Regions from separate parts of the Homo sapiens genome. Here all the other regions are linked to region 7. Evidence: promoter capture Hi-C in 16 types of primary human blood cells and fetal thymus (Javierre and others, 2016). All regions are on one chromosome and are shown on one strand. Each heading gives the region's core, a stretch centred on a gene start or on the middle of the fragment in contact. The rest is flanking DNA. Distances are from core to core; before and after follow the strand shown.

What was found. The method cuts DNA at HindIII sites, captures the fragments that hold promoters and counts their contacts. A CHiCAGO score of 5 or more calls a contact.
Region 1: a contact is called between the fragment with the promoter of ARHGEF17 here and the fragment with the promoter of ATG16L2 in region 7, in 3 of 17 cell types (endothelial precursors, neutrophils and megakaryocytes). The highest score is 9.0, in endothelial precursors.
Region 2: a fragment that was not itself captured here is called in contact with the fragment with the promoter of ATG16L2 in region 7 in 6 of 17 cell types (endothelial precursors, megakaryocytes, M0 macrophages and 3 more); the score reaches 13.1 in endothelial precursors.
Region 3: a contact is called between a fragment that was not itself captured here and the fragment with the promoter of ATG16L2 in region 7, in 6 of 17 cell types (endothelial precursors, M1 macrophages, erythroblasts and 3 more). The highest score is 8.4, in endothelial precursors.
Region 4: a fragment that was not itself captured here is called in contact with the fragment with the promoter of ATG16L2 in region 7 in 9 of 17 cell types (endothelial precursors, M0 macrophages, megakaryocytes and 6 more); the score reaches 10.2 in endothelial precursors.
Region 5: a fragment that was not itself captured here is called in contact with the fragment with the promoter of ATG16L2 in region 7 in 10 of 17 cell types (M2 macrophages, megakaryocytes, M1 macrophages and 7 more); the score reaches 8.8 in M2 macrophages.
Region 6: a contact is called between a fragment that was not itself captured here and the fragment with the promoter of ATG16L2 in region 7, in 1 of 17 cell types (M0 macrophages). The highest score is 6.0, in M0 macrophages.

What each region holds. Positions count from the first base shown.
Region 1 is chr11:73,306,578-73,310,109 of GRCh38, reverse strand. ARHGEF17 (Rho guanine nucleotide exchange factor 17) reads right to left here and starts at 1,834. Exons shown (of 21, transcript NM_014786.4): 1 at 1-1,834. The coding sequence starts at 1,471. ARHGEF17-AS1 (ARHGEF17 antisense RNA 1) reads left to right here and starts at 749. Exons shown (of 3, transcript NR_147696.1): 1 at 749-1,438; 2 at 1,546-2,228; 3 at 2,554-2,599. RefSeq lists enhancers at 19-839, 845-1,722 and silencers at 1,143-1,362, 1,593-1,922, 2,323-2,462. The HindIII fragment of the contact is 10,810 bases long and covers 1-3,532 here.
Region 2 is chr11:73,238,283-73,241,842 of GRCh38, reverse strand. It overlaps P2RY2 (purinergic receptor P2Y2), which reads right to left. Exons shown (of 3, transcript NM_002564.4): 3 at 1-3,560. Among named protein-coding and RNA genes, the nearest start is that of P2RY2, 22 kb to the right of the region's middle. RefSeq lists an enhancer at 771-1,521. The HindIII fragment of the contact is 1,187 bases long and covers 1,205-2,391 here.
Region 3 is chr11:73,220,172-73,223,607 of GRCh38, reverse strand. The region is part of intron 1 of P2RY2 (purinergic receptor P2Y2); the gene reads right to left. Among named protein-coding and RNA genes, the nearest start is that of P2RY2, 3.6 kb to the right of the region's middle. The HindIII fragment of the contact is 1,742 bases long and covers 1,096-2,837 here.
Region 4 is chr11:73,189,502-73,192,847 of GRCh38, reverse strand. No RefSeq gene overlaps it. Among named protein-coding and RNA genes, the nearest start is that of IUR1, 8.3 kb to the right of the region's middle. The HindIII fragment of the contact is 1,694 bases long and covers 1,185-2,878 here.
Region 5 is chr11:73,164,797-73,168,067 of GRCh38, reverse strand. All of the region lies in intron 1 of IUR1 (imatinib upregulated ABL suppressing lncRNA 1), which reads left to right. Among named protein-coding and RNA genes, the nearest start is that of IUR1, 16 kb to the left of the region's middle. The HindIII fragment of the contact is 2,739 bases long and covers 191-2,929 here.
Region 6 is chr11:72,475,275-72,478,967 of GRCh38, reverse strand. It overlaps the pseudogene ART2BP. Among named protein-coding and RNA genes, the nearest start is that of CLPB, 43 kb to the right of the region's middle. The HindIII fragment of the contact is 3,151 bases long and covers 94-3,244 here.
Region 7 is chr11:72,812,616-72,816,301 of GRCh38, reverse strand. ATG16L2 (autophagy related 16 like 2) reads right to left here and starts at 1,891. Exons shown (of 18, transcript NM_033388.2): 1 at 1,739-1,891. The coding sequence starts at 1,856. It overlaps LOC107984421 (a long non-coding RNA gene), which reads left to right and starts at 2,235. Exons shown (of 3, transcript XR_007062771.1): 1 at 2,235-3,669. RefSeq lists enhancers at 1,119-1,268, 3,279-3,408, 3,569-3,628 and silencers at 1,799-2,248, 2,649-2,738. The HindIII fragment of the contact is 2,352 bases long and covers 929-3,280 here.

The DNA of each region.
Region 1 (3,532 bases), core at 585-3,084, 490 kb before region 7:
CAGGTTTTCGGACCCTCAGCTCTGAAAGGTCTGAGCGCAGGAAACTGAGAAGCGTCAGGGTCTCTGAGGCGATATCTGGATTTGACAGGGACTTCCGCTGTCGACTCTTTTCAGGCTCAAATCCTCCATCCCTCAATGCCCTAGAGGTGCCTCCAGGTCCTTTGGCACGGGTTCGAGCCTGGGACCGCAGGAGCCCTTCCCCAGCTCCAAAGCTAGGGGAGCGGTACACGCCCCAGCCCCCAGAACCCCTACTAGACCATAGGTCGTCGTCCTTGAGGGTCTCCGTGCTGGAATAACGGCTGCTACCGCGGGAGCCTGCGGGGCTGGCCAGGTACGAGGGAAAGCTCACCTTGGCCACACGGAAAGCTCCTCCCACAGAGTCAGACATAGGCCGAAGTCCCTCCTGGGGACCTGGGACGCAGGGCGGAGAGCCACTACCCCACTCCCGGAGTCCTTCTTCTCTAGGGGCTCTTGGAGATGTTGGGGGCTCAGGGCTCCCAGAAACCCCTGCTGAGTTCATGCTGCTTAGATTTAACCCATCACTGTCAGGCCTGCAGTCCTGATCCAATAGGGAGCTTCCAGGCCTGAGCCCGGGCCTCCCTCCCCAGCGGTGGCCGCCCTCACCGTCTCGGTCGTCGTCACTGCCCGAGGAGTGGCCGCCGTGGTAGGCCGGACTCTGGGCTCCAGGCAGCTGCGGCGGGCCCTCCTCTTCCTCCTCGCTGGAGCTGGCAGCACGACTGCGGCTGACAGGATAGGAGGCGGCGATGGAGGAGGAGGAGCAGGAGGCCCGGGCCCCGGCCTGCGGTTGGGAGAAGATATGCCAAGAATGTAAACCATCCGCTGGACGCTGCGCCCGCTCCTGTTGCTGCTGCGGCCGGCGCAGCCTCCCTTCGGTCTCCGGCCCGGTCAGGGGCCGCGCCGAACGCAGACCCGCCAGGGGGAAGCATGTCCGAGGGGGTGGCGTCGGTGGCTGCCGCGACTCCCGAGCCGGAGGCTCCCACGCGGCACCGTCGGGGCTGGGCGTTCCTGGGGATTCAGAGTCGGCGCTGGGCCTCCTGGAGCCAGGACCGCCGAAGAGCTTGCGCATCTCGGTGACGCTGGGCCAGGCTCCTCGCGCTGGGCCCTCGGCCGCTTCTTCCGCGGCCGCGGGTAAGACGCCTCCGTCTCGGGTCCCAGCGGAGCCGTCGTCCAGACGCGGCGCGTCGAAGCGCCGGGAGAGCTGGCGAACCGACGGCGAGAGGCTGCGGAGCGGGCGCGGCTGCGCGGGGGCGGCCAGGGGCCCAGACGCCAGCTTGGACACGCGCCGAGAGGGCTGGCCCCGGGCAGCCGTGGTCGGCCGGCACGAGGCGCGTCGCCTCAAGCCGGGGGTGTCCGTGTCCTCCTCCCTCAGCCCGGGGCCGCCGCTCCAGCGCTCCAGCAGCTTGAACGAGACGCTGCGGTAAAGCTGGGGCCGGGGTGCCCCGTCCGCCATAGTGGCGTAACTCACTCCGGGGGGGCTGGCCTCGGGCAGCCGCGGCCAACCCCCCCTGCGCCCCCACTCCCTAGGAGCGCAGCGGCCCACGCCGAAAGCAGCGCACGGGAGTGTGGGAAGAGGACGCAGAGACCGGAGCAGAGGTTTCTCTGCCGCGGCTCAAGTTTCTGTGGCCACCGGCCGCAACGTCTCCATCCCGGGCGGCCCCTCCCGCCTCAGCGCCGACCCCCAGGCCCAGCCCCCGCCGCGGCTGGAGCGACCAGGGGCACCGCGGCACCGCCTGGGCGGGATCCCAGCGCTTGGTTCCTCGACTCTGCGTCCGCCTGCCCAACGCCCTTGGCTGCTCGCTCCTGGCACCCTTTTGTTGCAAATAAACTTTGCGGCAGAGGCAAGGGGGCGGGGGGCGGGGCCTCGCGCCCAAAAGAGGGGGTGGGCTCCGGGCGTGCGCGAGCCTGGGAACCGCGTGGTGGGAGGGAATCAGGGAGGAGCCGAAGAAGAAAAAGCCTGCTGGAGGACTTGCAGACTGAGGCGACCCTCTGGCCCTCCAGAGAGGTCCCTCGGGAGCCCAGCAGGCCGAGCTGCCCCCAGGGAGTCGCTGAGACACACACAACCGCTGAGCGTGCTCAGCTCCGCAGACTCGCAGCCAGGGCGCCGCGTCCACCGCGGGCCACCAGCCTCCGCGCGGAAACACCTCCTGCCCAGGGGCTCCAACATGGCAACCTCGGACTCACAAACTCTCGTACACACTGACACTCAGGTGCACGCAGACGCACACTCTCTGGGCCGGGAAAGGGGTGGGACTCGGCGCCAGGGAGAGCCCGGGGAGCCGCGGGCTAACTGAAGGGTCCGTCGCGCCCTACTCCCCGCCCAGGCCACGCCTCCTCCCCTTCCCTCCCCCTCCCCGCCCGCCCTCTGCGGCGAATTTAGCTGTAGCCACGCCCTTGTCCCCCCATCTCGCTCCCAAGCGCCCCGCCCATCCCACCTCCCAGCCGCCTGTCCGGCTCCGACCGGCCCCCAACCCGCCCAGCGTTGCTCCAGAAGTCCCACCCTTCACGACCGCGCCCCCACCCCTACTTTTCCAGCTGCCACGCCTTCCACCTGCCCCTGCAGTCTGGCGGCTCTTCTCCTGGACTCTCCGCCTGGATCCCCGAGCCTTTTCTTCTTGCTCTGGAGTACGCGGCTCTTGCGCCCCCTCGCGGCGTGATTTTCCCAACGCACGGAGTCCTGGACGGATAAAGCAGCACCCATCCCCCAAAAACGGAGAGTTGTGAAAACTTCCTTTCAGTCGTTACCTAATCCCCTTAGTCTTTTTCAGACCTTCGCAAAGCGCACTGCCCCTTCTTAGGCCTTATACACAAAAGGAGCTTCGACGGGAACGCCCTCGACTTCCCACTGCCAAACCTATACTCTTACCCGCAGCTGCTTCACCTTCTTGGCAGGAAAAGTGTCGGTTGTTTCTCTGGCTTCACGCTGATCCCTCGCTTGAGCTCCCCTCCCGCCCCTGCCTCCGTCTGAGTCTCACATTGTTCTCGGTATTGGGGCATCATCCCCTTCCGCATTCCCACCTGCCTCTAGATCCCATTCATCCTCCCGGCCCAACTAACGAATGAACGAACGAATGAAAATGTATGGAGTACCTATAATGTATGGGCAATATTATTTAACTTATTTTTTAAAATCCACAAACCACCCTTGGGGACAAATATTATTACCCCTTCTCTGTGGACCGTGAAGGAGAAGTAACTTTGACCACTATGCAAGTCAGGAAATAGCAGCTCCTGCTAAAATTCAGATTTCAGGGGCTTCAAACACCATGCTCCTCCAGCCAGCTCTGAGATGCACCCCCAAATCCTGATGAAGAAGGAGGTTCTCGTTCCTTTGAGCCCCCAGTCTCCTCCTTCTCCTCCTTGGGCCTGAGCTCACTCTCCTCAGGAACAGAGGATAACCTGGTCTGACCCATGCCCCTCCAGCGCTGCCCAGCCTTCTTCAGGCCTGGTCAAACTGCCCTGGCCCCTCCAACCCCCAGTAGCAAGGCCTCGGGGACACATAGTTAGGTCAGCA
Region 2 (3,560 bases), core at 549-3,048, 430 kb before region 7:
AGGTGTGGACTGATGTTTGGAGAGTTCTGTGCAGGGGGCACTGATGGCCCAGGAAGCAAGGTCAGCAAGAGAGGGCTGTAGCATCACCAGGAAAGACACATTGGTCCCTTTCCTCCCCACCCTGCCCCAACACCTAGAGGAGAGAGGGACCCAGAAGAGGAGTGATGAAGGTCCTCACAGCATGGGGGAAGAGGACAGGTGAGCATTCAATTAAGCAGGCGATGGAAATCTTAAACCTGACTTTGTTACCCAAAAGTGACTCAAAAGTTTGGAGTTTGCCAAATGCGCAGTTTATGGATGGGAAAGGAAAATCACACGTCACTGAGCAGGGAGCATGGGTGGGAGGAAAATCAAACAGTTGCATGTTTGTGCCTCACTGCATTGTCTCTGTCTAGTAAACCGGGAAAAGAGGTATTGGTATTACCAGTTCAATTTTCCAGATGAAGAAACTGAATTTGCAGTCCCAGAATTGGTGATGGCTGAACTGTGCCAGAGCCCTGCTCCTGCATCAGCTGCCCTGTGGCCCCCACCCTCCCCTTTGCCCCAGAGCTGCTGCTCTGTCACCCTGAGTTCAGTCACAGTCAGCGTGGGCTGCTATAACAAAATGCCACCGACTGGGTGGATTAGAAACAAGAGACATTTATTTCTCACCATTCTGAAGACTGGAAGTCTAAGATCGGGGTGCCAGCATGGTTGGGATCTGGTGAGGGACCTCTTCCAGGTTGCAGACTGCCAACTTCTCATTATATCCTCACATGGTGGAAAGAGGGTGAGGAGCTCTCTGGGGTCCATTCTGTAAGGGCACTAAACCCATTCATGAGGGCTGCACCCTTAGGACCTGGTTACTTCCCAAAGGCCCCACCTTCTAATACCATCACCTTGGCAGTTGGGATTTTGACATATGGATTTGTGGGGCGGGGGACACAAACATTCAGTTCCTAACAGCCACATTTGGTAAAAATGGGACTCAGTGGGGAGAAAGGGTTTAAGGTCAGGCCCCTGCACTGGGCTCACTCCAAGGTCAGAGCATGAGCTGCACCTCTCCACCCACACCACTTGGGCTGCTATCCCAGGTGCCCATCCCAGGAAGCTCAGTGGTGAGCTCTCACCACTGTAGCTCCAGTCCAGGAGCCACAGACTGGAGCTAATGAAGTTGGCTGAGGCAGTGGGAGCAGCCAAAGAGCCCTGGGCTTACACCTAAGCTTCACACTGACTGCTGTGTGACTGGGTAAGGCACAGCCCTCTCTGGGCCACCAGTCCCACTAAGCAGCCAAACAATCCCTGGGGTCCCTGCCAGGAGGGAAAACTCATTCCAACTGGTTGTGTCTCCCAGGAGTCTCACGTGATGTTTCACAATGGCCTTCAGGAGTTAAGAGCCCCAGGAAATGACATCAGGGTGGGGAGGTAAGGAGCAGGGCCAGGAGGTGAGGAGCAGGGCAAAGAGGCTTGGAAACTAGGGGCAGGAGATATTTTGGGGCAGGCAGGTCCCCCGCGTCACTGCTGGACAATGGTCCAGGGCAGTCATTGTACTGGGAGTGGAAAATCCTCTTCTGACTCCATCTGCAAGGGCTGAAAATAGTCCAGGGCCGTGGGTGGAGCCCCCAGGGACAGGGGGTGACTGGCCCTGCCTGGCCCATTGTTCCTGGCTGGGACAGGGCTGAGACTGACACCTGAGCTGGAGCCAAGACAGAGGCAAGCCCAGGAATTCCCCCATTGGAGGAGGAGTGGCCAGGCAGAGCCAAGTCCTATCGAAGATGGGGAAAGCGAGGCCCAGAGAGGGACAGTGACTCCCCCAAGTTGCACAGTGCATCAGGGCAGAGGAGGATGAGTTCGACTCGGGCTCAGTTCTCACCCCAACCCTTCACCCCCACAAGCACACCCCTCACTCTGTAGTCTGGTCACTCCTGGCCAAGCCCCACCCTCCACCTTGCAGGAGGCAGGAGCTCCAGACATCGCACTGTGTGGCTCTGTGTGGCGGCAGTGGGGTCACTTCACTTCTCTGGTCACTTGATGCTGGGGAGAAACACTGCCTCCACCCTAGTCCTCAGAGCTGGGGGCCTGGAGGGTCTTGGAAATGCCCGGGGAGCAGCTGTTGGTTGTGCCTTCACTGAGGTGGGGAAATTGGAACAGGGGAACAGGTCTCCAGGCCCTACAGTGCAGTCCAGAGAAGGCAGGCAAGTGACCTCAGGTCACACAGCAAAAACTCCCCATTTGCTGCCTGCCCTTGCCCAGCTCCAGACCAGTCCTCTGCTCCTAGATCTGTGGACTCTTAATGAAGTGAGAGGTGGCTGCAGAGCACCATGGTGGACACCCCAGTCAGGGAGAAATGGCTACCCTGCTGCCGTGGGAGGGTGCGAGCTCTCTAGCCTGAAGTGGCAAGTTTCTGAAGCTTGCTACTAGGGGCCCCCTCTTCCTCCTCTCCATGCTGCCCTCCCACAGCTGGGCACCTGGACAAGGTTCTGTAAACAGCACAGGCCCATGGTCCTGAAATCCACCTACTGCCAAGCAGGGCAGAGGTGGTCCCACACATTCCCCCAGGACAGACCTGCTTCCCTCCTCCCACACCCCACGGGGGTTCCCTGGAGACGTATGGCCCACTGTTGCTCACTGGCCAGACACACTGTCCTCTCCTTCAAAACATGTATCCCAATGTGGTTACGTACTAAGTGATGTCAACTCTGTGAGGGCAGGGCCCAGCTGATTTGCCTCCATAGCCCCCGGCCTGGTGCCAGGCATATAAATGCTGACCACACACCAGGCACTGTGAGGAGGACTTTGTGCGTAATAACGTAGGGAAGCCCCTCAACGCCCTGCATGGAAGGTAGCAGCACACTTTAGAAATGGGAAAACTGAGGTGCTGCAAGATTAGGTAACTTGCCCAAGAGACCCCAGCCAGGAAAGTGGGGACAATATTGACACTGAGGTGGTCTGGGTGGAGCATCTGTGTTCTCACATCCTTGCTACACTGCCTCTGTCATCTTGAATCATGCGAGGGGCCACTTATAGACCCTTCTGCCCTGCAGGGCTGTGAGTGTCGTGGGGCACTATAAAGGGCATGATTCTGGCCATCAGGTGAACCTGGACTCACTCTGACTCACCCTGACAGCCTGGATAACCTGGAACAAGTCCTCACTTCTCACGCCCTTCTCCTGTTTCCTCATCTGCTAAATAGGATCATAGCATCTACTTCCCAGGGCTTCTGTGAAGCATCCACCATATAACATAGATGAGAGGGTGCGTGGGACATGGGTCAATACACGACTTCCCTCCCTCATGTGCCTGATTCTAAACAGAGCAGCCCAAATCTGCCATGACAAGGGTGACAGAGAGGTAGCTTTGGTGACTTGACCTGGAGCAACCATGTGTGGATAACATGTTGCTTAGGGCCTCTTCTAACCTCAGGGGGTGAAAGTGGGAATGTACCCTGGGGTTCCTCCATCCCTCCTGGACCCTGGGACACCTGCCACCCAGGGCAGAGACCCCTGTGTGCCAGGGACCCTGCCCTGATGTCATGCAGTTCATTGAGAACAGCTGCTGCAGGCACATCAGCAGACATTTAC
Region 3 (3,436 bases), core at 717-3,216, 410 kb before region 7:
CCCCTTCTCAGAGCCTCGGGTTCTTCAGTGGTCAGATGGGGAGAATCACTGCTGCATGGGACAGCTCATGAGGAATAAGACAAGGGGGCAGGTGGGTGCACCTTGGCGCTAGCAAATCATGAACTGTCCTAATGTGGAGGCTGTGTCTGCCTGTCACAACAGGGAGACACTGAAATTCAGGAGCCCATGACACTGCTTGGTAGGGAGGCCCTCCCAGGTGTTCCCCAGCAGAGGGACAGAGGTCATGGTCAGAGCAGTCAGGCAAGGTCCCTGGAAGGGGAACTGTGATAAGATTTGAGGAGGAGCAGGAAGGGTCCAGCTTGGGAGGAAAGAAGGTGGATGGAGAATCCAAGGTGGAAAGGGGGATGAAAGCATCAACCAGGAACCACATGAGCCTCTGATTCTGAGATGGCCCCTCCAGGTACCTCCAGGATTCTGAGTTCCCTGGTTCTCGCAGTCTAATTCCAAGAGGCTCTGGTTCCGGGTGTGAAGGCTGTGTTTCTTCAATTCTATTACTCGTTGCTCCTGATAGCCTTTGGTTTTGAGATTCTCAGAGCCACAGGGGTCTGGATTCAGAGTAATGAAATCTTAAATCACATTCCCAGGAACCACAAAGTCCCAGCAAACACTTGCCAATGCTCTGGTGCACCTGGCCTCAGATGGACCTTGTGAACTCAGACTCAGATTGCACTCTGCTGGGCCCTTGAGGAGTACCCAGTCAGGCTGAGGAAAAAGACACAGACATGGACCAAATCCACTTGGGTGAATAAACCATAACCAAGGCAAGCCCAGGGGTTATGGAGCACACAGCAACTCCTACCTGGCCTGGGGGAGGTGGTCAGGGAGTGCTTCTGCAGAGGAGGGGTCATCTGAGCTGGAAACTGGTAGATGATTAGGAGTTTGTCAGGTGGGCAAAGAGGGAGGAGGGCTCTGAAGGCAGGAGAGGCATGAGCAAAGACTTGGTGGATGAAAGTGTGACCTGCTGGAAAAAGGCTGGGAGGTCTTATACGGCTACTGTGGAGGGTGAGGTGGCATGGAATGTGTGGGAGCCTGAGGAATTCACTTGAAAAGGCTCAAATGCCAGGCTGAAAAGCTTGGCCTCTATTCTAAGGACACTGAGGAGCCATGGAAGGCTTAAGAGGGGAAGGACATGGTCAGAGTCAACCTTTACAAAGATGGTGCCACATGGAAGGTAGATGGGACAGGGAGTCTGGAGGGAGGGAGACCAAGGAGGAGACGACACATACGGTGGTGCCATGAGAGGAGCAGGTCCCTTGGCCCTGGATTTCCTGCAACAGCCCAGCCATGGCAAGAGTCCCCCTCCTACAAGCCAGGGCTGGGTGGCTGGGCACTCACCAGGAAGCCAGGTCGACACCCAGAGGCTCTCCTCAGACCTGGGGAGGGAGAGGCCACATAAAGCCCCAGAAGTCTGAGGGAGGTCCCTTTCCCTCACTCCAGCACCCAGGCCTCTCATTCAGGAGCTACAATGACAGTGACAAGGTACCAGGGCAGAGGGTCAAGGAGTTGTTCCACGGGGCCCAGGCTGCTCACCCTCCTACCAGAAACTCCCGCTACTCATCTTGGACCAGGAAAGACTCAGGCCTAGGAGATGGGGTGATGGGGTGGAGGAACTCCTCTGCTCCAGAACCAACTATGGCACTCCGTGGAGCAAAGCCTCCCCTTCTACTCCATGCCTACTCCCGCCTGGCCACTCATTTCCCAAAGACCCACTGGCAGCTGCTCTGAGCCCAACCTGTGGTGGCTGATGGGGACAGAGAGAGAAAGCAGGTATGGCCTAGCCTAGTCCTGCAACTGGCCGCTGGATGAGTACAGAGGTCAGAGTGGCCCACACAGCCAGCCTCCTCCTATCAGGGCCCAGTAATAAGGGAAGGCCAGGCCTCAGGACCCAAGGACAACCAAGAGGAGGTGTGGCCCAGAGGGTATAGCAAGCAGGCCTACAGAAAGCAGTTTGGGGAGAGGCGGTTTGGGTGGAAGGCATGAGGGGCAACCCCCACTCCCCTCACCAGATCAACAAGGCATCTCTGGTCCCGTGGGCAGGTCTGGGCAGGCGTTACCTTATCAGCAGTTGGGTAATCTGGCCACAAGAAAGCCCCAAACACAGGTTCCCAGGGCAGAATTCAAACTCCCCTCAGCCTGGAAGCCAGAGGACCAGGCCTAACCCTAACAGGGCTCTGTCTCAGATGGGGAGGGCTAAGCTGGCAGGTGGACTGGAGCCCCAGGTTTCACCTCAGCTTGGTGACCCTGGGCAGGATACAATCCATGCCTCTATTTCCTGATCTGCAAAATGGAGATACAATTCCTCCCTCACAGGGCTATAGGAAGACAAAATGGATTGTTGTAAATCGTTACTAGTGAAGCCATCTCTGCAGAGGGGGTGGGGGAGGAAGGCATTCAGTAATCAAATTTCAATAACAAGCACAATCCCTTGCTATTGCACCCATGTTCTCTTATAGTCTTCAAAATGGATTTAAGTCTACAAGTGTCACATTCCTCCTCTGAGCACTGCAGTTTAAGGCTTATAAAGCTCTTCCCTGGTCACTATCTTAATCCTCGTAGCAACTCTGCTCTCAAAGAAGCAAGGATCACCATTCTCAATTTACAAATGGCAGAACTGACACCTAGAGAGGGACAATGGCCTCTCTAAAGACTATAGCCATTAAGTCAAAGCTCTCATGGGGTCACTCATGAGGCCCTGGTGATACCCTCACACCTTCTTAGCTGGTCCTTGGGGGATCCACAGCCTTAGAGCCCCATGCATCCAGGGCAGGAGGGAGACAGAAACAGAGGAGTCACAGCCTCACTCCACAGCCCAAGCTTGGTAGTCATTTCTGAGGGTTGCCCACTGGGATCCCCAACCCCTCTGACCAGACTCCAAGACAGCCCAAGGCAGGGAGAAGAGGAGAAAGAGCGACAAGCCTTTTGTGCCAGAGCCTCCCCACACACATACTCTCCCATGCAGGATCTTACTTGTTCTGGCCTCCTTTTAGAGCCTGGCAGGGCAGGAACTGGTCATTCAACCAGCTGGGAACAGAGCTGGGATGAGATCAATTGCAGGTCCCCAAATTCCTCAGCAGGAGCATCTGAAGGCTCAGGGAAAAGTGTTTGGCCAAGGGGCAAGGGCTCAATTAGGGTTCAAACAACTCCTGGGACAGTTCTAGTGTTGACATCACAAATGCCCTGACCTCCCTGCACTTGGCAATACTTGATCCATTCTCCATCCTGCAGCCAGAGAGCGCTTTCTGAAATGCCGCTCTGACCATGAAACACCTCTGCTCATAAATTTCCATGGCTCCCTATTGCCTTCAGGATAAAATCTCTAGGTCTTTAGCCTGGGCACTCTAGGTCCTACAGTGTCCCAGATCACACTGTTCTGGCAAACTGTGCCACCCACTTTGATAACCAGATTCTGGTTTGC
Region 4 (3,346 bases), core at 782-3,281, 380 kb before region 7:
GGTTGTGGGCCTCCTGCAACATACTCAACGAAACAGAAATTCAGAGCTGCTAGGAACACTGAAGCTTATCTAGCCCCATTGCTCCCCACTATAAGTGGACTAGGAGGCCGAGGCCCAGAGGAAGCAGGCACTGGCAGGTCCTTGGGCACCTCTCAACAACTTGACTGGAACTTGGGCCTTCATGACAGCAGGAGGACCCTTGGCTGGGGGCTTCTTAGGAAAGGCCAGGGCCCTCCTATTCATCATTCTGGGGCAAGGCAAGGCAGGGAGTCTCCAGGTTTCTGCCCTGACCCTGGGCTGTGGTTTCCTGGATCTTGACACCCCCAAGTGAGTCACCTCCACCTCCCAGGCTACATCTGACTCAGTGCCAAGGCCCTGGGGCTCCTCAGCTCTTACCTGGCTCCCAGGTTGGAGGAGCCAAGTGGGCAGGTTGGGGTGGCTCTTGGGCAGGACTTTGTGGGAGGGACTAGACCTTGTGAGAGGCTCATTTCCCCACAGTCCTCCTCAGGCCCTGGTAATGGTCCAGTCAAGGGCAGCCCTCAGAAACTCCCAATGGTGCGGCTGGGTGCAGTGGCTCACACCTGTAATCCCAGCACCTTGGGAGGCAGAAGCGGGCAGATCACTTGGGGTCAGGAGTTCAAGACGAGCCTGGCCAACATGGTGAAACCCCGTCTCTACTAAAAATACAAAAGTTATCTGGGTGTGGTGACGGGAGCCTGTAATCCCAGCTACTTGGGAGGCTGAGGCAGGAGAATTGCTTGAACTCGGGAGGTGGAGGTTGCAGTGAGCCAAGTTCGCACCACTGCACTTTAGCCTGGGTGACAGAGTGAGACTCTGTCTCAAAAAAAAAAAAAAAAAAAAAAAAAATAGGAACTCCCAGTGGTGCAGCTAGAGCTGAGGAGAAGGTGGAGTGCCTGGTGGCAGGCGGGGTGGGGGTACATGGGTCGGGGGTAGGGACATAGATTTAATTAAAATCACTCAGCCCATCAGGCCTGCAGGGGTCTTCTGTCAAGTGGCCATTCCCCGCTCCCCACTGAAGGTGCCCATCCCTCTGGGCTCTGTTTCTTCCTCTCATCTTTCCATTGTTATGTTATGTATTAGTTTGCTTATTGTCAATGTCTAGTTAGAACATAAATCCTGTTCACTGTTTCAAGATCATAAAACAGTACCTGGCTCAACAAGCTTTGTGGAAATTGCCCTTACTGCATTTCACCTTGTGTGGAACATGGCCCCTGATGCCACAGTCCCCCACCCACCCATGAGCATCTCAGCATCTGCCAGGAGACTGGCTGTGTGCAGAGCTTTGTGTTCCCCCGGTCCAGGTTCCAGTTCCCTCCTCTGATTACAGCCCAGCCTGGGTCCTGGGACTGAGAAAGTAAAAGCACAGGGTTGGGGCAGACTGACAGACAGTGGGTTTAGGGTGCTGCTCAGGGTGGGGCTCTCATCTGCCTGCCCCAGTGCTTCCACCCGAACCACACAAGCCCACAGCACCTAGACGTGGCCCAGGAGCTCAATCCCAGGCCCACACGGAGCTGACCCCTCCCAGCCAGTCGGGCTGAGGGTACAGCACTGAGCCAGAAGCTGATGACCTGTCTGCCTTGACTTGTGACCTGCCAGATCCCTAGGCCTTGCCGGGCCTGGCTCTGTCTGTCTGTACAATGATGGTTCTGGGCTGACTGGTCTCTGAGGCTTGCCAGCTCAGCCCACCCATGGCTTTTTCCTACCCCTTATCTACCTCTAAACCTCTGTGCCAGCCACTCCTGCATTACCCTGGGGGTACTCCTGAGCCAAGGATCTTAGACCCTCCCCTTCACCCTAGTCAGACCCTTTGCTGACCCTTCTCTGGGACCCAAGTCCTGGTCCTATCTGTCTTGGGGACCATAGGCAGTTGGTGCCAAAGACTGTCCCCAGGATACTTGGGATACTTTAAAGTCATCCAGTAAAATGTCATTCAGGGAAAATCTGTCCACATTTACCTGGCTCCAGCCCTCTAATCAATCCTCCTTTGGGACGCCTGCTCCCCTGACATGTCCAAAGCTGATGAACTCTTTATCTTTCCCCAGACCTGCTCTTCCTGTCACAACCTCAGCAAGAGCATCACCAACCAGCCGGTCACCTGGGCCAGGAACCCAGAAGCCACCAAGCCTCCTCTCATTTTCTGCCTGCCCTCCTCCCATCCTTAACTAAATCCTGGCCACCCCTCTGTGCTATCCTGGGGACTGTCCACCTCTCACCTTCCGCTGAACTGCCCAACTTCATCCTTCATCTTTTCCTCCTGAACCTCAAAAGCAGAGGGCCCTTTGACACTGCTGTCTGCCTTCAGTCCATGCTTCATGCAGCAACCAGAGAGGGACCCTGCTGGCCACACACCCAGCCTTGTCACTCCCCTGCTCAAAACCCTTCCATGGTTCCCACTGCCCTCTGGATAAGGTCTGGCTCCTTGGCCTGGCATTCGAGGCCCTCCAGGCTCTGGACCCTGCCAGCCTTATCAGCTCATCTCATGTGGCTGTTCGACTTGCAGCCAAGTATCCTCCAGCTCTCAGCTGTGGCTCACGATGTTCCCTCCACCTAGGAGGCCTCTATTCTTCCACATCTTTAGGTTCCTCCATCCTGAATCATCTGGAGAGTCCGCTCTGGGAATTGACTCCTTATTTAGGGAGGCTGGATAAACAAGGCTTTTCTCAGGCTGCATGTGTGTTTTTAGACTCAGTCAACATTTATCTATTTATTCAGGTACTCAGCCTTTCAAAAAGGATTTGAGGTGGGCTATTCAATATTGATTGTGGGCTACCATGTGCAGCAAAGTCCAGTGTGCACACACACACTCATTCACACACAAGGCCGGGGCACCATGAGAACCAGGAACCAGGCAGAAGCTTGCAAAGGCCTCATGGGGCCAGTGTGAGGATGAGGCACCTGGATTCAGAGGGAGGCCCACCTGGCTCAGGGTAACACAGACAGATATGGGGTTGAGGGTTCAAATCTGAGGTTTTCTGAGCCCAGTTCACAGGGCTGCCCCTGGAGGACTGAAGCCCAGCCCTGTCTTTAGAAAGTTCCTTGGTTATATGTAGAGAGGGGGCTCTGGAAAATTAAACAAAGCCCACCAGACAGCTCACCTCCCCACAGGGTGCTCAGTGTCCCATCTTATTTAGCCCCCTAGGGTCAGGGAGGAAGCAGGAGCTGGAGATGAGGGGAGGATTTGGAAAGACAGAAGGTAGTAACAGAGGCAGCAAAGGCTGCAGGTGGGGGAAGGAGACCCATAGCTTCCCTCCGTGGCCCCTGCTTGCATTTCCCTTCCCTTTCGCCCACGTCAGCTTCAAGATCTGTTCCTCTTTTCTTCTGCAAC
Region 5 (3,271 bases), core at 311-2,810, 350 kb before region 7:
GAATCTTGGCCTCCCCTTCTCACTGCATATTCCTTAAGTGGCACGGGTCATTCTTGTGCAGGAATTGAGGGATTGATCTGTGGCTCTGAATCCGTGTTTGATTCTTGCTGTCAGAACCTAAAATCTCTTAATTTTTCCCACTTCTCTCCCTCTCTCCTACCACCATCCTGTAATATTACAGCAGGAAGCTTTAATCACAATTCAGCATCCTCTTTTTATCCCTGTGGCTGCATTCCTGCAAACGTCTCTCTGTTTTGGTAGCATGTGGCCTTGACCTAGGGTTTCAGTGCTTGTCTGGTAGCCAGCCCTGCAGCAGCAGGTCCAGCTCCAGGAAATCCTGTCTCCATAGCTAAGGCCAAAAGGAGAGGGAGTGGGGACCCAAATCAGCCCAGGGTATCTGCCTCAGTCCACCTCACCCCTTCCTGGAGACACTGGTTTCTTAATAAATCACGTGTCCTTCAAGGCTGGATTAAATATCAGTTTCCAGCCTGGGTCACATAAGGAAGTTTGGGGTTTTTTTGACATCAGTCCCTGAGCTCACTGCACAGGGTACATGGCCTCATTTTTCACTGACTGCTGTCTTGCCACTCTCATTTCTGCTATCAGCACCTTGATTTCCTTTGAGAGACTTTCCCATCTCTACTCTCAGTTCAAGGAATTCCTATGTGGCGGACCCCACATTCCCAACTCCAGAGTTGGGGAAATAATCCAGTTAGCTACATGAGACTGGTACTTTCCCCAGAACTACTGGGAAGGTCAACATTTTCTAGCAGGGCTGATGATGTCAAGATGCAACTCTTGGAAGTCACTTTTCTACTACATGGGGAGAGTAACTTGAGAGGGAAGCCAACACAGAGGAAGAAAGAGTGGTGAGATGGAGATAGATTCCTGGTGACTTGACTTGTGTGCCTGGATCTAGCCATTCCTGAAGCTAGCCATACTCCTGGTTTTCATATTTATGTGAGCCAATAATTCCAAACTCCCCTTTTATGGTTGGGCTTTATTTTATTTCCTTAACACACTAGAGATGAATTTCCATGATTTGCAGCCCAAAGAATCCTGATTAATATACCTTCTGAAAAATTCATTCTTAGGTCAGAATGCTGACCTCAAAGATATAACTTCCCCCTGGCTTTGGGGAAACATTCCAACACCATCTCTGTTTCAGCTGGATCGCCTGCCCTGGTAATTTGGCAGTGATGGAGAGGGAGGCTCACCTTTGGTTCTTTACATAGGGTAATGATTAATACCCAGTTTCAGCTGAGAATTGAATGGCCCATCAAAAAACCTGGGCAGGAGCTGGGCACGGTGGGTCACACCTATAATCCCATAATCCCAGCACTTTGGGAGACTGAGGCAGGTGGATCATTTGAGGTCAGGAGTTCGAGACCAGCCTGGCCAACATGGTGAAACCCCGTCCCTACTAAAAATACAAAAAATAGCTGGGCATGGTGGCACACGCCTGTAATCCCAGATACTTGGGAGGCTGAAGCACCAGGATGGCTAGAACCCCAGAGGCAGAGGTTGCAGTGAGCCAAGATTGCACCATTGCACTCCAGCCTGGGTGACAGAGTGAGACTCTGTCTCAAAAAAAAAAACAAAAAAAAACAAAAAACCCTTGGGCAGGATCCTAAAATGCAGCCTAGGTGTGTGCCTCCATTTATACCCCTCGCCAAAGAGCAAGACTCAACATTTCTCTTAGAATTGCCCCAAAGTAAATCTTTACCTCAAGGCCTTAGTGAGGAATGGTTATTGTATTGTAGATTCCTGTCTAGAGATGGAGTAGTGTTTTACATCAAACAGTCCACAGCAACTCTCTCTCCTCTCAAGCAACCCCAGGCTCCTCTCCTCACCAGTGAACCCCACCTCCACCTTTCCTGCCCTCTCCCCACACTACTTTTTTTATAGCACAATTAGCTCTGGGGTTCTCTTCCTTACCCGTGATATATAAGGCTGTGATCTAGCATAGGAAAGGCCATCACCCTGACCCTGAACAAGACTTCGTTCTCAGCAAACCAAAAACCTGCAACCTACCTAGGTATATTTTCCTTAGAAGGCATGGAGGAAATTGTAAATTTTCTTGTGATTATGGTAGTATCATTATATAATTTCAGATCTGAATTTTTGTTATATATGAGAAAAATGACTTGATTTTTAAATCATTGTACATTACATAGATGTCAAATTACAATATAAAATGATTTTTATATTGTAAAAATTATAAAATATACAACATAAAAATTATAAATATACAATATAAAATATATAATTTTATATTGTAAAATTTTGTATATTGTATGTATTTATAATTATAATATCAAATAATTTTTTAAATTATGTACCCAGAAGGAAAAATATTAATTTGAAGTCATATTTTTTCCAGCTTTACTGAGGTATAATTGAGAAATAAAATGTATATATAATCAAGGTGTACAATGTGATATTTTTACATAGGTATACATTGTGAAATGCTTACCACAATCAAGCTAATTAACATATTCATCACTTTACAGAATTACCTACATTTTCTGAAACATATTTTTTTCCTGTCGTGTGTTATAATTCTTCAGAACCAAATATATACCACACTGCTAAATCACCCCTTAACTGGAGATCAGTTTATGCAAATTACCCAGAGTCCTTTTAACACATTATTTTTCTGCTTAAATTGGTCATTTTTTGCTGTCACTTGCTCCCACAACCCTACAGATGCAGTGGATCCCTCCTGTCCCTTGCCCTAGCTCAGCTTCTGCTTTCTCATAGCCTGCACTGACTCAGGCAGCTACCCACTCCCTCTTTTCTGAGTCTTCCTGCCTCATCTCCTGTTTCCAACAGCTTAGCTTCCTCCTCAGATCTCAGGTTCAAATTCCTCAGAGGAATGAATGGCTGGCCCAACTTAATCCCTGTCTTCCAGTTTGGGCCCCAAGCTTTTTGGGTTGAACCAGCTCTGAAATCTCCAGCAAGTCCATAGCTTAGCTGCTCTGAGGCGTTCAGCTGTAGATAAGGGAGGTGGAGGGTTGTGGAACAGGGTGAGGGGAGAGCCCTTGAGCAAAATGGCTGTCATGACAAACACTCTGGAGCTTAGTCCATTCAGAACTGGGGGTGACTGTCCCCTTGCCACATTACACTTAGAATGTGGGCTCCCATTCCAAATCCCAAACCAGGAGAAAGCCCTGGATTGAGTGGTACCTTCCTGACCAGAGAAGAGAGACTGGAACAACAAGGGAACATCACTCACAGGGACAGGGGAGGGAGAGAAGGGGCCACAGAG
Region 6 (3,693 bases), core at 420-2,919, 340 kb after region 7:
TAATGAAACTTGGTGCAACAGCCTCTATAAATGATGTAACACTGCCCTGTAGTGAGAAGTTGAAGAGCTCTTGTCAAATAATAAGAGAAAGCTTTAAACTGAAAGTTTTGTAAAATTTGGAGGAATTCTCTTACAGTCCTGCTAATAACCCTGGCACTGTATACCCAGTACAGGCCACTAGAGCTGTTCTGTGGAAATCGTTGAATTGTTTATTTTGGTTTGGTTTGTTTGTTTCCCCTCTGCCCTTTCACATTCAGTTTTAAATTTTTTGTTTGCTTTCAGTTTCTCTCTCTCTTTTTTGTTTTTTTAATTTGAGACAGGGTCTTGCTCTGTTGCCCAGGCTGGAGTGCAGTGGTGTGATCTCAGCTCACTGCAGCCTCAACCTCCCGGGCTCAATCAATCCTCCTGCCTCAGTGTCCCATGTAGCTGAGACCACAGGCGTGCCACCACGCCCAGCTAATTTTTGTATTTTTGGTAGCAACGGGTTTTGCCATGTTGCCCAGGCTGGTCTTAAATCCGGAGCTCAAAGGATCCACCCACTTCAGCCTCTCAAAGTGCTGGGATTACAGGTGTGAGCCACCGTGCCTGGCTGAAAAATTGTGATTCTTATTTATAATCCACCATCTCTAACAGACCCTCATCATAGCTCCACTCCAGGGTCTTCTTGTTTTATAAAATATGAAGGAGTAGCTGTCAGTAGGATGAGGGTCCAGAGGTAGTAAATATTACCTGTACTATTAGCCACCAAATTGGAGTCAAAAGGTGATCTGTCATGTCTAAAATTGATGTCATCTAGTAGTTGAACAAAGACTTCACATAAGACCGTGAAAGTGAGGCCTGAGCACTAACTTCATTGTTGTTGCCTTATTTCTGTGCTAACGACCATCAACCACCAGTGTAGGGTCCAGAACTCCAGACTTGCATTTACGTCTGCATCCTGGACACCTTCCATCTTAGGTAAGTTCCAACAGAAAATTTCTCAATGGTGCGTGTTTTCCATTTCTTCCAGCATGGAGCTATTTTTATTAAACGATGGAATGTTATTATCATCTTTAAGTCTGCAGTCCTATATTCCACCGCCGTCTGACCTAATTCTGCCAGAATCTGGAGCACGGCAGAACCTGAGAATGGTCGACAGGGCCAGCAGGATAAGAGTGAGTATCTGTAGTAAGCCTCTTTGCTGTCTTTGAGTTCTCCTTGATCTGACTCCATTTTTAAATTTTTATTTTGTTATTTTTAGAGTCGGGGTCTTGCTCTGTCACCCAGACTGGAGTGCAGTGGTCCGATCATGGTTCACGGTAGCCTTGAACTCCTGGGCTCAAGCAATCCTCCCACCTCAGACTTCTGAGTAGCTGGAACTACAGGCACGCACCATCAAGCCTGGCTAAGTGGCTGGAATTTTTTTTTAAGAGAGATTTAAGCGAGGTGGGGTTTTGCTATGTTGCCCAAACTGGCCTCAATCTCCGGGCCTCAAGCAACCCGCCCTCCTTCAGCCTCTTCAGTTATTGGAATTAGAGGCGTGAGCCACCAAGCCCAGCTGTGACTCCATTTTTGAACTTCTTTTATTTGAGAAGTCTTCGTCATTTCAGAGAGTGATCATAAACTGAGCCTGTCCACTCCCCTGATACCTTTCCCATGTAACCCATAAAAAGGTTGAGTTTTCTGCTTTTATCCCTAGGCTAGACTAACCTTTCAAGGTCCTTCCCCAGACCAAAGGTTAGAAAAGAATTCCAACTTCTCACATTTCATGTTAAACCACATGTCCCTAGATTGTCAAGTCATACTTAAAATAAAATAACTGGGCCAGGTATGGTGGTCCATGCCTGTAATTTTAGCACTTTGGGAGGCTGAAGCAGGAGGATAGCTTGAGGCCAGGAGTTTGAGACCAGCCTGGGCAAGATGGCAAGACGCAGTCTCCACACACACAAAAAAAAGTTTAAAATAAAATAATTGATATACTGAAGATGACTAAAAATTAGAGTTTCTCCTTAATGTTTCTAGGAATTATGTTGTTCTAAAACATCCAGTAATTCACTTTCCCCTTAATAATTAGAATTAGTTATCCCAGCCGATAGAGTAACCCACATCTCTGCCTATTGGCTCAGCGGCATGAGGAAAACAAAATGGCAACTGAGCAGTCTTAGCTTCCAACTTAACGAGTCTGCAACTATGTTCCCTATTGGAAGCATTTTCTCCCTTAGCAACTAAGGCTTCTAAACCTGCAAGGAATAAGACAGTGGGGACAAGAAGCAAATATTCTTTAACTGGATTATTAGATGCATTCATGAGAGGGGCCTCTCTTACTCCACCCTCCTCCTTTCTATGCTTGTGTGTCCCTGCTGTAGAGAAAATAATGTCATATATTGGTTGCTGATGTAAAGAATGTACTGCTCTTCCATTTGTTAGGGTGCTGTATTTCTGCTGGCACCATAACTGACCTTCAGCAGGTCATTCTCTCAGTAACCATGACCTTCATAGGTGATTCTCTCAAGCCAGCTGTTTCTGGGTGATAACATATATCCTAAGGTTAACATAAATCTCATGGTATGAGCCTGTTGCCACACCTCTTCCACTATAAAATTAGCCTCTTGGTCAGATGTATGGGATACCATGTTGGTAAAGATGACATTCTTGGCTGGGTACAGTGGCTCCTGCCTGTAATCCCACGGCTGTGAGAGGCCTAGGCAGGAGGATTGCTTGAGGCAATCCACACGTGCTTTCCAGCTTTTCCAGCTTCAATGCTAGTCTCTACTCATTCTGACCACTAACCATGAAAAGAAAGGAGTTTGAACCAGCCTGGGCAACACAGCAAGATCCTGTCTCTATAAAAAATTTAAAAAGTTAGCCAGGCATTGTGGCATGTGCCTGTAGTCCCCGCTACTCTGGAGGCTAAGGTGGGAGAATATCTTGAGGCCAGGAGGGCTCATATTGGAAGCTACAGTGAGCTATGATTACAACATTTCACTCTAGCCTGGGTGATAGAGCAAAACCCTGTCTCAAAAAAAAAAAAAAAAAATGACATGGTTCTGGTAGAAGCATTAGGAACAAGGAAAAAAACTCTGGAAACATATCTATTCCCATGAGAGCACTTTCTGTCCTCAATGAAGGAAGGGTTCCTATTAAATCAGTTACCACCAGAGATTCCTGGCTAGTTTCTCTGGGGAATGGTGCCATACTGGGGACTCATCCTTGGCTTCTGCAGTTGGCAGCTGGGCACTCACTAGTGGTGGTAGCCAAATAAGCTTTGGTGAGAGGATATAGATGTTGTTAAGCTTGTGTGCAGCTTCCATCTCTTCCATCTTGACACTTTGTACCTGGTCCATTGAGCAACAACTGGAGGGGCTGGGGAAGGAGGCCAACTGACATCTGCACATCCAGTCATCTTGTCCACCTGATCACTGAGTGACTCATCTGCAGTGGATGACCTCTGTTGGGTATTTTTGTGGGACATGATTGCCTTCATACTCTATGCCCATTCCAAGAGGCCCATCTACGTATCTCTTCTCCAGGTCATCCATGTCATGAAGCCACAGAGGCCATAGGAGTGGGTGAAGGAGAGACACTAAACAATGGTGAATCATGCAGCCAATGGAAGGGGTTCAGTCAATGACTAAGTATGTCTATTTTAACTATATATGCAGGAACAAGGGAAATAACTAGATTCATTGGACCCACTGTCCAGTGATGGACTGA
Region 7 (3,686 bases), core at 642-3,141:
TCTGCACTTAAAAATAATCCCCAGCCGGGCGCGGTGGCTCACACCTGAATTCCCAGCGCTCTGGGAGGCCGAGGCGGGCGGATCACGAGGTCAGGAGATCGAGACCATCCTGGCTAACACGGTGAAACCCCCATCTCTACTAAAAAATACAAAAAATTAGCCAGGCGTGGTGGCAGGCGCCTGTAGTCCCAGCTACTCGGGAGGCTGAGACGGGAGACAGGCGTGAACTTGGGAGGCAGAGCTTGCAGTGAGCGGAGATCACACCACTGCACTCCAGCCTGGGCAACAGAGCAAAGACTCCATCTCAAATAAATAAATAAATAAATAATCCCAACTTCCCCAGCCCTGGTGTAAGGTACCCCCAGGCCAGAATAGAAAGTCCTTGAGCAATTATCCAGCCGACATTCTGGAGGTTGGTGGTTTGACCCTGGAACACCCTCCCCCATCAACAGTCACTTCCTCTTTTCTCACCAGTTCCAGGGGAGGGTGGGGTGGTAAGTCCGGGCCTAGCTCCCTCCTCATCAACTTCCTTCCCACACTCAGTGCCCTGTCACCTTGACTGAGGCCCTGGGCCTGGCCTAGTTCTCATGAAAACCCCACCTCAGCCCCCAGGGTACTGCAGCACCCAGCAAACCTAAAGAAGGTCTCTATACCCAATTAACAAGTAAGAAGACTGAGGCTTAGCGATGTGATCTGCCCAAGGTTTCAAGACTGGCCCTTCAGTCTGATTTCAGCCCTCCAGATCTCTCTAGTCCCTCAGACTCACAGCTCCCTGGGTCGGGGCGGGGGGCAGGGGTTGGGGGGGCGGTGACCCCCTCCCTCAAACTGGACGGTTCCACTGTCTGTCTGAGCAGTGGAGAAGTGTGGCTGCTGGAGGTGGGGGCTGGCCTCGCAACCCTGAAGGTAGAGGACCAGCAGCCTGGAAGCTTGCAGAGAAATTTTCCTGGCTAAGAGCAGATTTGATTGTGGGGGTTTGGCCAAGATTAGCCCCAGTGAGAGAGCCGCAGGGATTGTGGTTAGACTTCCAACCACAGACATACAATCGCAGGCGGCCAGAGGTGCGACACACAGGCACACCTGTTCATCCCCTCTTGAAATGCCACACCCTATCCTGACCAGCTGCCCAGAAACAATTCTGAGAGTCCGACTTCGCTGGGCTCAGCCAGCATCCACCAGCAGCCCGGGGCCCCCTGATGCCCCCTCAGGCTGGGTAGGCTGACAGGGAGGTGTTCCATAAGCCTGTGCCAGCGTCGCCTGTCAGCGGCAGAGCCTGAGATGCACAGCCTCCTCCTTAGAGGTTCCGAGTGTCGCCCCTCTCCGGATGGGCCAATAAGTGGCTGCTCTGGACAAGTCCCGCGTTCTTTCACTGCGCTACCGAGACTAAGTGCACTGATCAAGCCCCTACCCCGGGGACTGCCCGGGTGGGGAGGCAAAAGAGACCCTGCAAAACCAACACCCGAGGACGCACTTGCGTCTCGGAAGCCCAGCTTGTGGGAGGCAGAGCCCGTCCTGAGGGGCGACGAGGGCAGGGGGACCAGGAGGGGCTCGTCCAGGTTCTAACCAGAGCCTGGATGGCAAGGGGCGGAGTCCTGGCAGTCGGGATGGGCGTAACGCACAGGCTCAAGGCATAAGGCACAGCGCACTCGGGTCACAGGCGGAGGAGCCAGCCAAACCCTCTCCCCGCGCCCGTAGCCGCGTCCCCTCAGCCGCCATCCTCTCAGCACCGGGGCGCACTCACAGGCCGGCACCAGCTCCAGGAAAAGCGCCTTTTGCGTACGGTCCCGAAGCCGCAGCTGCCGCACGATGTGGCGTTTCCAGCGCGCTGCGGGGGCACCGGGGACGCCCGGCCCCGCCATGGCCGCGCTCTCCCGCCTAGCGGCGCGTTCCTCCCGCCCAGGACGGCGCCAGGCCGGGGCGGGGCCTCGCGGGGACTCCGTGACGCCAGGGGGCGGGCGGCGGCGGGGAATCCCCGGCTTGTCCCAAGAGGGCTTTGGCGGGGAGGACCGAAGGCCGACGCCGGGAGGATCTGCCTCCGGGAGGAGCCGCCTCCGGGTCTGAACCGCCGGGGCCCCGTCCGAAATGTTCACCTAAGTGGGGGCTCCTGTGGCTGCGAGGGTCATAAGCAGGAGCGAGGTCGGAGCCTCCGGGGAGGCTTCCCCCACGCGGGTGGAGCGCTCCGGAGGCGGGGCCCTCAAGGCCCGGGTGTCTTAACCCCGCCGCGCCCGGGCCGAGTTCGAGAGCCGCTGGTGCTTCCCAGGCCGTCGCGCTCCTGGCCGCGCACCCAGCCAGGGACCCAGAGGCCCTCAGCCCCGGGCTCTGCGCGTACACTGAGGGCGCGGCGCAGCAGGACAGCAAGATAAGGAAGCAGAGACTGAAGGGAGGAATCCCCGCTTTCCGGGGATGATGGCGTTCGAGTTGGGTCTGTGAGGGATGAAATAGGAGTTGGCCAGAGGGAGAGAGGGACTCTAGGCCTCGAGAAGAGCACGTGCAGAGGTTCCGTGACACGAAAACGCCAGGTGGGTGCGGGGCTGGGAGGACAGGAGGCAGAAGGGTTTACGGCTCCACATGGTCGCCGAAATTTTAGGTCCCTGAGAGTAAAGGGGTGCAGCTGATTTCATCTAGAAAGCCCCTGGCCGGGAGGAGAGAACGAGCTTGCTTGCCTGGGGTTGCAAAGGAGTGGGTAGCTGAGACGGCCAGCACCCCAGCATCCTGACTCAGGGCCAGACGCTTCACCCCATTGGGCGGCGTCTGGAGGAGCAGACACATCTCTTGTGGGTACCCTCGAAAGTGAATCATGGGTCGCAGGGAACTGTGGTCAAACCGTCTCTAGCTAGATGCTAGAGAGCCAGCTCTGCAGGCTCAGGCTACTGTGAGACACGAAAGGAGGGACTCGCTGGGCACAGCCTCACCCTGGGGCATGCCAGCAGGCCCTGCCCTCTGAGTGTTGGCAGACTTGAACATCCCTAGGGAACGAGAGAAGTTGGGCAACGATGGGAGAGCAGTGCAGGCCCTGGAGGTGACGAGTCTGTTGAGATTCTGATGGGGATGGGTCAGAGGACGTAGAAAGCAGTGAAGGCCTAGACGCCCCCAGGTCAGTGTAGCCTGCTCTGCTTCCAGTGAGCTGGGCTCAGTCCCCCACATGTCATTGTCTTAGACGCCCATGGCCTTTGCACAGGCCGAGCCTGATGTTTGGAACATCGTCGCCTCTAGGGGGCCTGGCTCCTAATCATGCATCACCTCCTCCAGGAGAACTTTCCTGCCCCTACACTGAGTTCAAGCTTCTCAGACACCAGCCCCAGTTGAGTTCGAGTTATAACCGTCACCAGTTATCACACCATCCTGTAATCTGTGCGGTGCCCCTTAGGGCAGGACCTGGGTCCTAGATGTCTCTGTACCTCTAGCCCCAAACCAGGCCTGACCTGTCTCTTGAAGGAGTATTTGTGTTGAAGATGGGTGGTAACGTTCAGCAAAAGCCATGCCCAGGAGACAGGCACAGTACCCATGGAGACCCAGGGCCAGCTGATGACAGTGATGAATTCCCTTTAGAACTGGCGGACTCTTGGGTGCTTGGAGACACTATATAAATAAGGAACTCTGGCTGTGTGCATGGGAGAGTATATTAACAGGGCTTGGCCTGGCTGTGAGGTGCAGAGATGCCGTTTCTCTCAGGTAAGGAGCCATATTGG